Linked DNA regions of Homo sapiens: region 1 is linked to region 2. The links are contacts of gene promoters, found by promoter capture Hi-C in human tissues and cell types (Jung and others, 2019). All regions are on one chromosome and are shown on one strand. Each heading gives the region's core, a stretch centred on a gene start or on the middle of the fragment in contact. The rest is flanking DNA. Distances are from core to core; before and after follow the strand shown.

Evidence for each region. The method cuts DNA at HindIII sites, captures the fragments that hold promoters and counts their contacts. A contact is called where the count stands out against the background at its distance.
Region 1: a contact is called between a fragment that was not itself captured here and the fragment with the promoter of MMP25 in region 2, in 1 of the 25 tissues and cell types used here (lymphoblastoid cells).

What each region holds. Positions count from the first base shown.
Region 1 is chr16:3,509,625-3,515,939 of GRCh38, reverse strand. CLUAP1 (clusterin associated protein 1) reads right to left here. Exons shown (of 12, transcript NM_015041.3): 5 at 3,462-3,557; 6 at 349-432. Among named protein-coding and RNA genes, the nearest start is that of CLUAP1, 12 kb to the right of the region's middle. RefSeq lists an enhancer at 5,966-6,025. The HindIII fragment of the contact is 6,420 bases long and covers 1,381-6,315 here.
Region 2 is chr16:3,045,066-3,051,630 of GRCh38, reverse strand. MMP25 (matrix metallopeptidase 25) reads right to left here and starts at 5,070. Exons shown (of 10, transcript NM_022468.5): 1 at 4,615-5,070; 2 at 4,084-4,216; 3 at 1,487-1,622; 4 at 1,085-1,377. The coding sequence starts at 4,713. RefSeq lists enhancers at 1,526-2,118, 3,610-4,189, 6,038-6,117 and silencers at 5,068-5,357, 5,398-5,597. The HindIII fragment of the contact is 14,233 bases long and covers 2,744-6,565 here.

The DNA of each region.
Region 1 (6,315 bases), core at 3,341-5,840, 460 kb before region 2:
CTGGAATTTAGAAAACCCTGAAATCATTTAAATACTAAGCAGTGAGGAATTGGTTAAACAAAATAAAATAGAGCATTATTTATTAAAATTATTGAATAACTGATAATTATCAAATTACTGAAACTGATCAATTTTTAATAACATGAGAAGCTGTTTTTATTTATAACGAGGGGAAAAAAATGATAGTAAGTGACCTAGGTAAGCTCGAATGTCCTCTTGAGTTTTTCATTTCCCCACTAACACATCCCTTGTTACTAAGCCTAGCTTGTTCTGTCTTGTATGGGCAAGAAATCAGTATTTTTGAATCCCAGGCATAAAAAACATTATATAAAAGCAAAGTCATCTTACCAAAATCTCTTTTATTGCAATTCTCATCACTTTTTCAGTCTCGTTTATTTCCAGAGGTCTGGCAATGGCTTCTGTTCTCATTTCCTAGGAAACAGTAAAATCATTTACGTATATTTTCAGAAAAGGAGTTCTCAAAACCAGTATTCCTAGATCTAGATGTGCCTTATAGACTGATTCTCCGAAGTTTATTGCCATGTGGATCTCTGATGCAAAAACACTGCCACCATCACCTCCTATAATGTCTTCCATTATCTGAGTGCCTACCCAGCTCTCTCCAGAGCTCAAGGTCCTCCTTTTCAGCCAGAGGCCTAGGTGACCCCAACTCTATGAGCAAAACTGAACTTAGCATCCATTATCTTTTCTCCCAAATTTGCTGCTGCTTCTTTTTTTTTTTTTTAAATAGAGATAGGGTCTCACTATGTTGCTCAAACTCCTAGGCTCAAGTGATCCACGTTCCTTGGTCTCCCACAGTGCTAGGATCACAGGCATGAGTCACTATGCCCAGCCCCAATTTGCTTCTTTACCTGCATTCTGTCCAGGTGACTCCCAAACTAAGCATCTTTCTTAGCATGAAGTCCCTCTCAGTTGCCTATCACTAACAAACGCAACCGATAAGAACAGTGACCATGGCCCTGCCCCTAGCATGAACCATTAACCTATCAAGGGAGACATCTGTGACTATCATATCAGTGCTGAAAACTTCTGAGACATGGGATTGTAATGTGGATATAGTTATGAGGTTTACTATAGACAATGTTTGTGTGACCCCAAAATTCCTATGTTGAAACTCGAAACCACAATGTGATGATGTTAGGAGGTGATTAGCTCCTAAGAGAAACCCTGGGGAGATCCCTCACCCCTGCTGCCATGTGAGGACTCAGCAACAAGGCACCATCTGTGGGGAACAAGCCCTCGCCAGACACTGAAGCTGCTAGTGCTTTCATCTAGAACTTCCCAATCTCCAGAACTGTGAGAAACAAATCTGTTATTTATAAGTCACTCAGCTTATTGTGTTTTGGGACGGCAGCCTGAACAAAGTAAGACAAGGTTCCTGAAGCACTGTGTCAAAACTCGTCTTGTGCTTCCTTTCATCCACGGTGCACCTGGTGGGAATGGCTGAGGGCAGGGTGAGGACTTAGTCAAGGAGGCAGAGCTCAGTGCCTTGCCTGTGGCTGAGGCTGCACCTCAGTAAATGTTTACTGAATGAAAGAAAAACAAACACTGGATAGGCGCTCTTCCTCGGATCATGACTACACACAGAATTTGACAAGTACTACATTCAGGGTCTCATGGTTTCCTTGGGAACAGTTTCAGCCACTGGTTACTTCATCATTCTTTACAGGATGGTGTTGAAAGAGACCCCGTGGGATGGAAATGAAGTCTCACAATGATGCCACAGCTCTAGTGGCAATCAGCAAGTGGCCAGCTCCTGTCTCTGAGTCTCTTAGGGACATGTACAGACATATGTACACCACTGCACTACAAACAGAACAGGGGAAAGCCTGGAGGTACCTTACTCATCATCTGAATTAGCTAGCAGATGTCAGTGGCAGTTTCATTCTGCCAACCACACTTCATCAGGTGGCAACTGCCGGGTCAATATATGATGAGCAGACATAGCAATCTAGCACCTAAGTCCCTCTTCCCCAGACTTCCACTTCCAGTTTGCTCCCAGGGTATGCCAGAACACAGGCAAGGCAGTGAGAGAGAGAAGCCATGGCTGGCACTCTTGCTAGGAAGTGAATGAAAGAAATTCATTTAGTTTTAAAGCATTAGATTGAGCACATATGCTTCAAATGCCATAAATCTTTACAGGTAAGGATTAAACACTACTCCACTCTAGGCCAGACGCAGTGGCTCATGCCTGTAATCCCAGCACTTTGGGAGGCCGAGGAAGGCGAATCACTTGAGATCAGGAGTTTGAGACCAACCTGGCCAACATGATGAAACCCCATCTCTACTAAAAATACAAAAATTAGCCGGGTGTGGTGACACATATCTGTAATTGCAGCTACTCAGGAGGCTGAGGAAGGAGAATCACCTGAACCTGGGAGGCGGAGGTTTTAGTGAGCCGAGATTGAGCCACCGCACTCCAGCCTGGGCAACAGAGTGAGACTGTCTCAAAAAAAATAACAAAATTAAAAAAATAAAAAATAAACACCACTCCAGTCTTAAACAGCTACTTAAATGTAGGTGATGGCACATACTTCTTGGCTGGCATTGGCTGGAATAAGGATTGCAAATCAAATCAGTCTCCACTGCAACATCAACTTCAGCTGACTGGAAGTGATGCCAAGATTGCTGGTCCCAAACTGCTGTTAGAATCACCCGGGAGAATCTGAAAACTCCCAATGCCCAGGTCACATTCCATAACAAGGACCCCAGAGTGAAAGCCAGGCTTCAGAAGTCTTTAGAGGTCCCCAGGTGTTTGCACTGGGCAGCAAGGTCGGGGAACTGCAAGCTCAGAAGATCATTTTTGAGAAAATGCTGAAGCAGAGTACACCAGAAAAAAACATCATGATCAATAAAGTCTGCCAGTGGGCACAACAAGGACAGCTCAGTCACATGCCATGGAGCTGCCACTCCTAAACAAGAAGTTAAAGGTAGACCAGTGCCGGGCGCGGTGGCTCACACCGGTAATCCCAGCACTTTGGGAGGCCAAGGCAGGCAGATCACGAGGTCAGGAGATTGAGACCATCCTGGCTAACACGGTGAAACCCTGTCTCTACTAAAAATACAAAAAATTAGCCGGGTGTGGTGGCAGGCACCTGTAGTCCCAGCTACTTGGGAGGCTGAGGCAGGAGAATGGCGTGAACCTGGGAGGCGGAGCTTGCAGTGAGACGAGATTGCGCCACTGCACTCCAGCCTGGGCAACACAGCGAGACTCCGTCTCAAAAATAAATAAATAAAAATAAATAAATAAATAAATAAAGCTAGACCAGTGCCCACCAGAAGCAGGAAGGACAGCTAATATCCTCTATCACCTTTCCACACATTAGCTCATTCAACCAGGTGTATTTCATTAAATCAGAACTGAAAAGGGAGAAACAGAATTGAAAAAGAAAACCTTGAAGAGAAAATCTGCATGGTTAAGGAAGTACTGGAATGCTTACCCTCAACTCTACTTCCATGCCGAGCAAGTCATACAGAGATGCTCCTTTGGAGGTGATTTCAGACGCAAGCTGCCTGGCTGCCTTCAAATCTGCAATCTGGAAGGAAAATAACAAAAACAGAAACCTCAGCAACAGATGTTTTTTAATAGAGACAGGGTCTTGGCTATGTTACCCAGGCTGCTCTCTAACTCCTGGCCTCAAGTGACCCTCCGACCTCAGCCTCCCAAAGTGTTGGGATTATAGGCAGAACCACCATGTTCAGCCAGCCACAGATTTTTTTTTTTTTTTTTTTGAGACGGAGTTTCGTTCTTGTTGCCTAGGCTGGAGTGTGATAGCGCGATCTCGGCTCACCGCAATCTCCACCTCCCAGGTTCAAGTAATTTTCCTGCCTCAGCCTCCCAAGTGGCTGGGATTACAGGCATGTGCCACCACGCCCGGCTAATTTTGTATTTTTAGTAGAGACAGGATTTCTACATGTTGGTCAGGCTGCTCTTGAATTCCTGACCTCAGGTGATCCACCCACCTCGGCCTCCCAAAGTGCTGGGATCACAGGCGTGAGCCACCGTGCCCGGCCAGCCACAGATTTTTAACATGCATTCAACCACTAGCCTGTTCATGTCAGCTCCTACCTTTGGTTGGGACACGTGACCACAAACATGTGCTTCCCCAGTTACATGCTCACAGGCTGCGGGACACACGCTCAGGAAATGATCATCTAAGTACTAAAGAGACCAATTCCAGGACGCCTGGGTCTCTCCAAAAAACCTAATGTCACCTCAAACTGAAGCCACAACCAGGAGGGCATAGCTGGGAGAAAGCTGACGTGCTTCCTACTTGGACTTTGTCACAGTAGGGTGCCTGACGGCAGCAGAGCGGCCACACAAAGGGACAGCCTGAGGGACACACATCCTCTTGCAGCAGCCTGACGTCCTGTGTTTCGTCCTCCCCTGCCCTCCTTCTCTGCCTCAGACTTTCCTCCACAGGCTTGGAGAGGCGCAAATCGGGTGGCACCCACTAAGGACTTACAATGGTTCTGGGCTCCACAGATGGGCAGCTGTTGCCAGGAAGGTGATGACAACCACAATGAGGATTTAGCACTGAGCCCTGTGCACAGGCTTCTTTCTTAGGATGTGTGTGTCACCCCTTCTTCCTAGAATATGCTAACTCTTCTAAGGAGCCCAAACATAAACGTCTCCCTGCTCTGCTCACTCTCCCTCTCTCCTGGACAACCAATCCTCACCTTCTGGCTCTCATTTTCAACCCACTAGCAACAACTCTCCCTCTTCATTTGCAGCTGATGGCTTTGATAGCTTGCTTCCCTCTTCCTTAGTCCTCCAGGATCCAGCCTGCTCTGGCTCTAGCTGCTTTTCTTCCCTTCCGAGCAGCACATCCCCAAACTTCTTTGCAGGAGTCTGTCACCTTCTCTGCTTCTCAAAAGTGGAGCGAGTCAGAGTTTCATTCCTGGACCCCCCGTCTTTTCTGCTGGCTCTGCTCCTACCCTCAAGGCTTTAATACCATCTGTGTGCTGATTGCTCCCCAGCTCCCAGCTCCAGCCTGGGCTTTCCCTGGGCTCTAGTTTCACATACCAGCTACCTGTGCACCATCTCCACCTGGACAGCCAATCGGCGTGGCAAATGGAGCATGTGCAGAACCTTCTCTGCTTCAGTACATGGCAACTTCATCCTTCCAGGGGCTCACACAAAAAACTTCAGAGCAGTGATGTCTAATATAGTAACCAATAGCCACATGTGGCCATTTTCACTTAAATTACTTAAGAATTAAAGAAAATGCAGAACTCAACTCAGTTCCTCAGTTGTGCTTGCCACATGTGGCCAGTGGTTCCCGTAGAGTACAGCACAGAGGCGGAACACACCCATGAGCTCTGCAAGCTCTGCCGCACGGCTGCCCCAAGACCCGGCCTGTAGCACCTGACTTACTCTCAACCCATGCCTCATCCCGTGAGATCTACCATCAAAATATGCCCCAATCTCTAGACACTTCTCTTGCTGACGAGTGTCGCTCCTGGTTAAAAACCCACATGTGAGGACAGGCGCGGTGGCTCACGCCTATAATCCCAGCACTACGGGAGGCCGAGGCAGGCAGATCACCTGAGGTCAGGAGTTTGAGACTAGCTGGCCAACATGGTGAAACCCCATCTCTGCTAAAAAAAAAAAAAAAAATACAAAGCCGGGTGCGGTGGCTCACGCCTGTAATCCTAGCACTTTGGGAGGCTGAGGCGGGCAGATCACCTGAGGTCAGGAGTTCGAGACTAGCCTGACCAACATGGAGAAACCCTGACTCTACTACAAGTAAAAAATTAGCTGGGTGTGGTGGCGCATGCCTGTAATCTCAGCTACTCAGGAGGCTGAGGCAGAAGAATCACTTGAACCTGGGAGGCAGAGGTTGCAGTGAGCTGAGATTGTGCCATTGCACTCCAGCCTGGGCAACAAGAGTGAAACTCCATCTCAAAAAAAAAAAAAAAAAATTAGCTGGGCATGGTGGTGTGTACCTGTAATCCCAGCTACTTAGGAGGCTGAGGCAGAAGAATCTCTTGAACCTGGGAGGCAGAGGCGCAGCGAGCCAAGATCGTGCCATTGCACTCCAGCCTGGGCCACAGACTGAAACTCCGTCTCAAAACAAAACAAAAACAAAACAAAAAAGCTGTGTGTGGCTTTTCAAGCCCAACTATAGACCATGACAAGGCCTCACCTAGCAGGCCTCACAGGGGAAGCTTTCTTCCCTGCAGCAGACTTGGAGCTCAGCCAGTGCACTGTGGTTTCACGTACCCTGCGTGGCCACACTCTTAGGTGCACTCCCAGCCCCGGGGCCTTCATTCCTAGGTCTCCTGCTCTGA
Region 2 (6,565 bases), core at 3,821-6,320:
CCCAGCTCTGGCTTGGAGCTAGGCACCTGCTAGGCCTCTGTGATGGTTCATTGTGTGTGTCAGTTTGGCCCGGCTGTCGTGCCCAGCTGGTTGGTGAAACACCAGTCTAGATGCCATGGTGAAGGTCTTTGTAGATGCAATTAACATCTACAATCAGTTGACCTTAAGTCAAGTAGATCATGCTCCATAGTGTGGCTGGGGGTGGGGTGGGGGCAGAGCCAATCAGTTCAAGGCCTTGAGAGCTAAAGCTAAGGTTTCCTGGAGAGGAAGGAATTCTGCCTCCAGACTGTCACTGAAATCCTGAGTTGCCAGCCTGCCGTACAAATTTTGGACTTGCTATCCCCTACAATCCCGTGAGCCAATTCCTTAAAATAAATCTCTTTACACACACGCACACACACACCCCCCCCACACACATACACACACACACACATCCCACACACACGTGCACACACACACACATCCTGTTGGTTTTGTTTCTCTGGAGACCTCCCAGCTGATAAAGCCTCCATCAGTAAATATAATTTAAACCTAATTATTGGCCAGGAGTGGTGGCTCATGCTTATAATCCCAATGCTTTGAGAGACCAAGATGGGAGGATCACTTGAGCCCAGGAGTTCAAGACCAGCCCTGGTGACATAGTGAAGCCCCATCTCTACAAAAAGTTTTAAAACTAGCCAGGTGTGGTGGTGCACATCTGTGGTCCTGGCTACGTGGTGGCTGAGGAGGGAGGATCACTTGAGCCCAGGAGGTGAAGGCTGCAGTGAGCCGTGATCGTGCAACTGCACTCCAGCCTGAGCAAGATAATGAGACCCTGTTTCTACAAAAAGTAAAAAAAACAAACAAAAAAAATAGCCAGGTATGGTGGTGTGCACCAGTGATCCCAGCTACTCTGGAGTCTGAGGTGGGAGGATTGCTTGAGCCAGAAGTTCGTGGTTGCAGTTAGCTATGATTGCACCACTGCACTCTAGCCTGAGCAACAGAGCAAGACCTTGTTTCTTAAACAAAACAAAACACACAACAGAAAACTTATTCTTAAGACCAGACCTGGCAAGAGGATCTCTCATAAGAGAGGAGATTTTACCTTTTGACCCAAAAGTCCAGGTCTCCTCATCGTCAAAGTGAGTGTCCCCGGAGATGGGGTGCTCCCCAGGGAAGAAGGCATGGGCTAGGGTGCCCCCCAACCCGTCGAAGGGGTAGCTGTCCTGGTGGAAGGCGCGGGCAAAGTCGATGAGGATGTCGGGCTCCTGGCCCTGGGGGGAATCCACCTCATGAAATGTGAGGCCTGACTCCATGCCCCAGGCCATCAGGGCATAGCTCATGAGGACCCGCACGGTCTCCTGGCTCAGCTGGGAGCTCTGGGGGAAGGAACGTACCCTGGGGAGAGGGGAGTGAGGTGTAAGGGTGGCCGTGGAGGGAGCAGGCAGCCATTCAAAGCCGGAGCCCAGCAGGCAGGGCCAGGGTGCGGGTGGGCCCCAGGACCTACCTCCATGTCAGGGTTCGCTTCTTCCACACGCTGCCGCTCAGAGCGTACCGGCGACGCCGCCTGACCAGCCCCGCCACCCCCAGCACGTCAGGCAGGGAGCAGCGGGGCTTACGCATGGTGGCCACTGTCCCTGGGTCTGCGGGAGACATTTGGCGGTGGGGGGTGTGTCCACAATAGGAGAGCCTGCCTTAATCATAGCACCAGTCAACTTTCTACATGGGAAAACTGAGGCTCAGAGGGCTCAAGAAATGTGCCCTCGAAGGCCCCACAGCCCAGGTTTGAACCCAGGCAGTCTGTCTCTGGAAGCCAGCTCCTACCAAGCCATTCCTACTGCCCTTTGGAGTGGCGTCACCTGGCCTGGGACAAACTGGCTGCATGCAGGTGATGCTCAGAGGCTCAGGCCAGGATTTTGCATCCAGCTTCCCTGGGCCCTGGTGGGCGGACTCTGGAGAAAGGAGCCCTGGGTATGCAGTGAGGACCCTTTGAGGCTGGAACCCCCTGGGAGCTGTGCAGGCCTCACACCATCACTGCCAAGTTCTCCTCAAACCCAGATTAGGTCCAAAGTGCCCAGGCCGGCTGGGTCTCTGGCCTCCTGTGGCAAGCCACCCCCTCCTGGGTTAGGTCTCTCTGGGGTCCCCTTTCCCAGCTGGGCTCCATCCCCAGTAGCCTCATCTCCAAATTAAGGTCAAACTGCGCCTCATTTATTGAGGCGGCAAATAGTGATGAAGGACATATAGATGCCAGACACTGTTCTAGGCTGTTTGTGAGTCACCAGGACAGACACAGGGCCTACCTTTCCTTGTAGTGAGCCAGATCCTTCAAATTCCCTCTTCCTGCCCACTTAACCCCACAGAAGAGTTCCTCGGCCCTGCCTCCAAAATATACACCCCGAATCCAACTACTTCTGGCCACATATGCCACCCATCCTTCTGCCACCATCCCTCGTGTGGACTCCGCAGCCGTCTTCTGCCTGGTCTCAGGGCTCCTGCCTTCCATTCTCCATCAGGACCCAGAGGAAGCTTAAAACTGCAAGTCAAAGCCGGGCACGGTGGCTCATGCCTGTAATCCCAGCACTGTGGGAGGCCAAGGTGGGCTGATCGCTTGAGGCTAAGAGTTCGAGACCTGCTTGGCCAACATGGCAAAACCCTGTCTCTACTAAACATACAAAAAAATTAGCTGGGCATGGTGGCGGATGCCTGTAGTCCCAGCTACTCAGGAGGCTGAGGCAGGAGAATCACTTGAACCCGGGAGGCAGAGATTGCAATGAGCCGAGATTGCGCCACTGTACTGCAGCCTGGGCCACAGAGTGAGACTCTGTCTAAAAAAAAAAAAAAAAAAATTGCAAGTCATACCAAGTTCTGAATTGCTTCCCTTCTGAGAACACTTAGGTGGTTGCTAATCACCCTTGGAATCAACCCTAATCACCTTTCAGGGCCCTTGGCTGAGGCCTCTCGCCAGAGCTCTTCAATGCTCCTTTTGCTCCAGGCACACAAGCTTCTGCGTGCCGTGGGGTCTTTGCACTTGCCCGGGACACTCTTCTTCCACATCTTCCCATGGCTGGTTCCTCCTCTTTGTGGTCTCAGCTCATATGACACTTTTCAGAGGGACCTGCCCTAACCAGACCAGCCCCTCAATGCCAATAGCATTTTATTTTTTTCTAAACACTCACCGCCATCTGAAATTATCTTTCATATTTATGTTCTTGATCTGTCTCTCTCTCTCTCCCTCGAGAAAGTTAGCTCCATGAGAGCAGGAACCTTACCTACTTTATTTATCACTATACCATTGGAGCTGAAAGGGCGTGGCATCTAAGAGATGCTCAAAGTATATTTGGTTAGAGACTGGGTCTCCATCTGTTGCCCAGGTTGGAGTGCAACGGTGCAATCATAGCTCACTGCAGCCTTGAACTTCTGGGCTTAAGCAATTTTCCCATCTCAGCGTTCTGAGTAGCTGGGACCACAGGCCTATGCCACTACACTCAGCTAAATTTAAAAAAATCCTTAGAGGACTGGGCACGGTGGCTCACACCTGTAATCCCAGGACTTTGGGAGGCCAAGGCCGGCGGGTTACCTGAGGCCAGGAGTTCGAAACCAGCCTGATCAGCATGGAGAAACCCCGTCTCTACTAAAAATACAAAATTAGCCTGGTGTGATGGTGCGTGCCTGTAATCCCAGCTACTCAGGAGGCTGAGGCAGGAGAATCACTTGAACCTGGGAGGCAGAGGTTGCGGTGAGCCGAGATGGTACCATTGCACTCCAGCCTGGGCAAAAAGAGGGATACTCCGTCTCAAAAAAAAAAAAAAAAAATCCTTGGAGAGTGGGGGGGTCTCACTTTGTTGGCCAAGCTGGTCTCAAACTCCTGGCCTGAAGCAATCCTTGAGTCTCCGCCTCCCAAAACCCTGGGATTACCGGCATGAGCCACCAGGTTCTTGATAAATGCTTATGGAAAGATGAACGCCTGAGGCCCTCTGGGTTTGGGGCCTGAGATCAGCATCTTCACAGCTCCGTGTTCCAGGAGCACACTGAGGTCTAAAGGCTGTTGGGCGGTGGACAGGCTGGGTGCAGAGGCAGGGCTGGGGAGGGGTGGGGGCCACCTACCCATGCGGCCGGTCTCCGGCAGCCCCGCGAACCTCTGCATGACTTTGATGGCATCGCGCAACTTCTCAGGGCTCTGCAGCTGGGCCTGGGCAGGGTGGGGTGGCGGCAGGTAACCATAGCGAGTCAGCCAGTCCTAGGGCATCGGAGGGGGCAGGTGAAGCGGGCTGGGTGAAAAGTATGGGCTCTCTCTGCCCACCACCATCCTGGCAGCCCTGCCCCTCCCAGGCACCCAGAGCCCAGGGCCCCAGCCCCGGATGCCTGCCTGCTCCCCTCCATAGGTCCCCGCTTCAGTCCCGGGTTTGCCAGTCTTGTCTGGACTTCAGCTCCGCACCTCAGCTCCTTTCCAGAGCTCCAAATCCCAGCCCCAAACTTCCCGACAGACCCAAGAAGCCGGGAGCACAGACCCCATCCTCAGTCACTCTTTGGATATTGGAATCTGGCCCCTGCCTCCTCCGGACCCAGGAGTCCGGGCCCGGCTTCCCTCTCCCAATCTCTCTGCAGACCCCAGGAGCCTGCGGACCCCGCGCTCACCACGCCCAGGCTCACGTCCTGCGCCGAGGGCTTCGGGGCGCGCGCGGGCGGTGCCAGCAGCAGAAGCAGCAGCGCCAGAAGCCGGAGCCGCAGCCGCATGGTGCGCCCCAGCCCGGGCCGCCGGCGGGGTTCGAAGGGGGCCTGGCTGGGGCCGCCCCGGGGACCTGGGGGAGGAGATCCGGGCCTGGAGAGGGCGGGGGGCACCCGGCACCGAGTAGGGAGGGATCGGCCGGAGGGCTGGGATGTGTGTGGGGGTCCCGGGAAGTGCGCGGTGGAGTCAGCGGAGGGTCCCGGAGGGCCAGGGTCGCGCCGCTGGGTCGGGTGGGCCCGGGAATCCCAGGATGGTTGAGAGGGCGCGGGAGCGGCGGAGGTCTGGATGTGCCGCGGCGGCCTCTCGGGGTCCCGGGGCGCTGCGCCAGCGGCCCCTCCTCTCCGGGCGCGAGCGGAGGGCTGGGTGGGGCGGGCCGGGCCGGGCCGGGCGCACCCCGATATGCGGTAAGGGCGCGGCAAGGGAAATGGCCCAATCTTCGGACGTCCAGCGACAAGGGGCGGGCCAAGAGGTGGCCCCTGCCCGACCCAGAGACCCTCCTCCGACGCAGGACGCCCGGGCGGGGGCCGGGGGTCCACGGCTCTAACTCCCTCGTCCGCAAGTTTCTCTTCCCAGATCCCCGCTCCTGTGGGACTCCCCGGGGCAGGGCTCGCTTCTGCTTTCTCGAAGCCGCGCGGCCTGGGGGAGGGCGGCCCGGGCCTTCGGCTCAGCCAGCCCTCCCCATCCCTGTATCCCGCCCCTCTCCTTCCCCCCAGGACCCCGTGGGGCAGGTTGTCTGAGAGCCGGGGGGATTTCCGGGCAGCAGGAGGCTGGGAAGGAAGCCTCCTTCCCCGCGGGGTCCCGGCCCGCCCTCCGCCCCGCCAGCTCCAGCTGTGCGCGGTTGCAGCTGCCCGAGGGCCAATACTCAGTCCCTCAGCCCACGTGGGCTGCGCGCGGGGCTCGGCCTGGGCACGCGGGGGTTTGGGCCCCTCTAGATGCCGGGAGCAGCGGCTGCTCCGCGACTGCACCCCTCTCCCTAAGTGCCGGACATTTAAATGCTGCAGCCACTGCGCGGAAGCCACAGCGCCTGCCAGTGCCGGGAGCCGGGGACCGGGGAGTGAGTAGGCGGGGGAGATCCGGGAAGCCGAGACCTGGGGGTCTGCGAGCCGCCTCCTCCCGCGCCGAGAGCACCGGGCTAGGAGGCCGGACAGGTGGGGAAGGAACTGGAGGAAGCGGGCGGGAGGCTTCCTGGGGAGGGCGGGTGGGCGAGTGTGAGTTAAACTGCTCAGTCTCGGAGCAGTTCAGGGGCAGCCGCCGGAGCTGCTCACAAAATAAACAGCGAGCAGGATGCGGAGCTGGAGATGCAAAGGCAAACACTGCGATCCCGCGCCCGCTCGCTGGGGCCGCCAGAACAAAACACCAAGGACTGGGAGGCTCAACCAGAAGTTTACGTTCTCACAGTTCTGGAAACTGGAAGGCCAAGATCAAGGTGCCTGAGGGGCTAGTTTCTCCGGATGCCTCCTCCTGGGCAGGCAGATGGGCGTCCTCTTGCTGTTTCCCCACACGGCCGTCCCCCTGCGCTTGCACACCCCAGAAGTATCGTCCTCTTTTGTTTTGTTTTGTTTTGTTTTGTTTTGCTTTTTTTGAGACGGAGTCTCGCTCTGTCGCCCAGGCTGGAGTGCAGTGGCGCGATCTCGGCTCACTGCAAACTCCGCCTCCCTGGTTCACGCCATTCTCCTGCCTCAGCCTCCCGAGTAGCTGGGACTACAGGCGCCCGCCACCACGCCCGGCTAATTTTTTTGTATTTTAGTAGAGACGGGGTTTCACCGTGTTAGCCAGGATGGTCTCCATCTCCTGACCTCGTGATCTGCCGGCCTCGGCCTCCCAAAGTTCTGGGATTACAGGCGTGAGCCACCGCGCCTG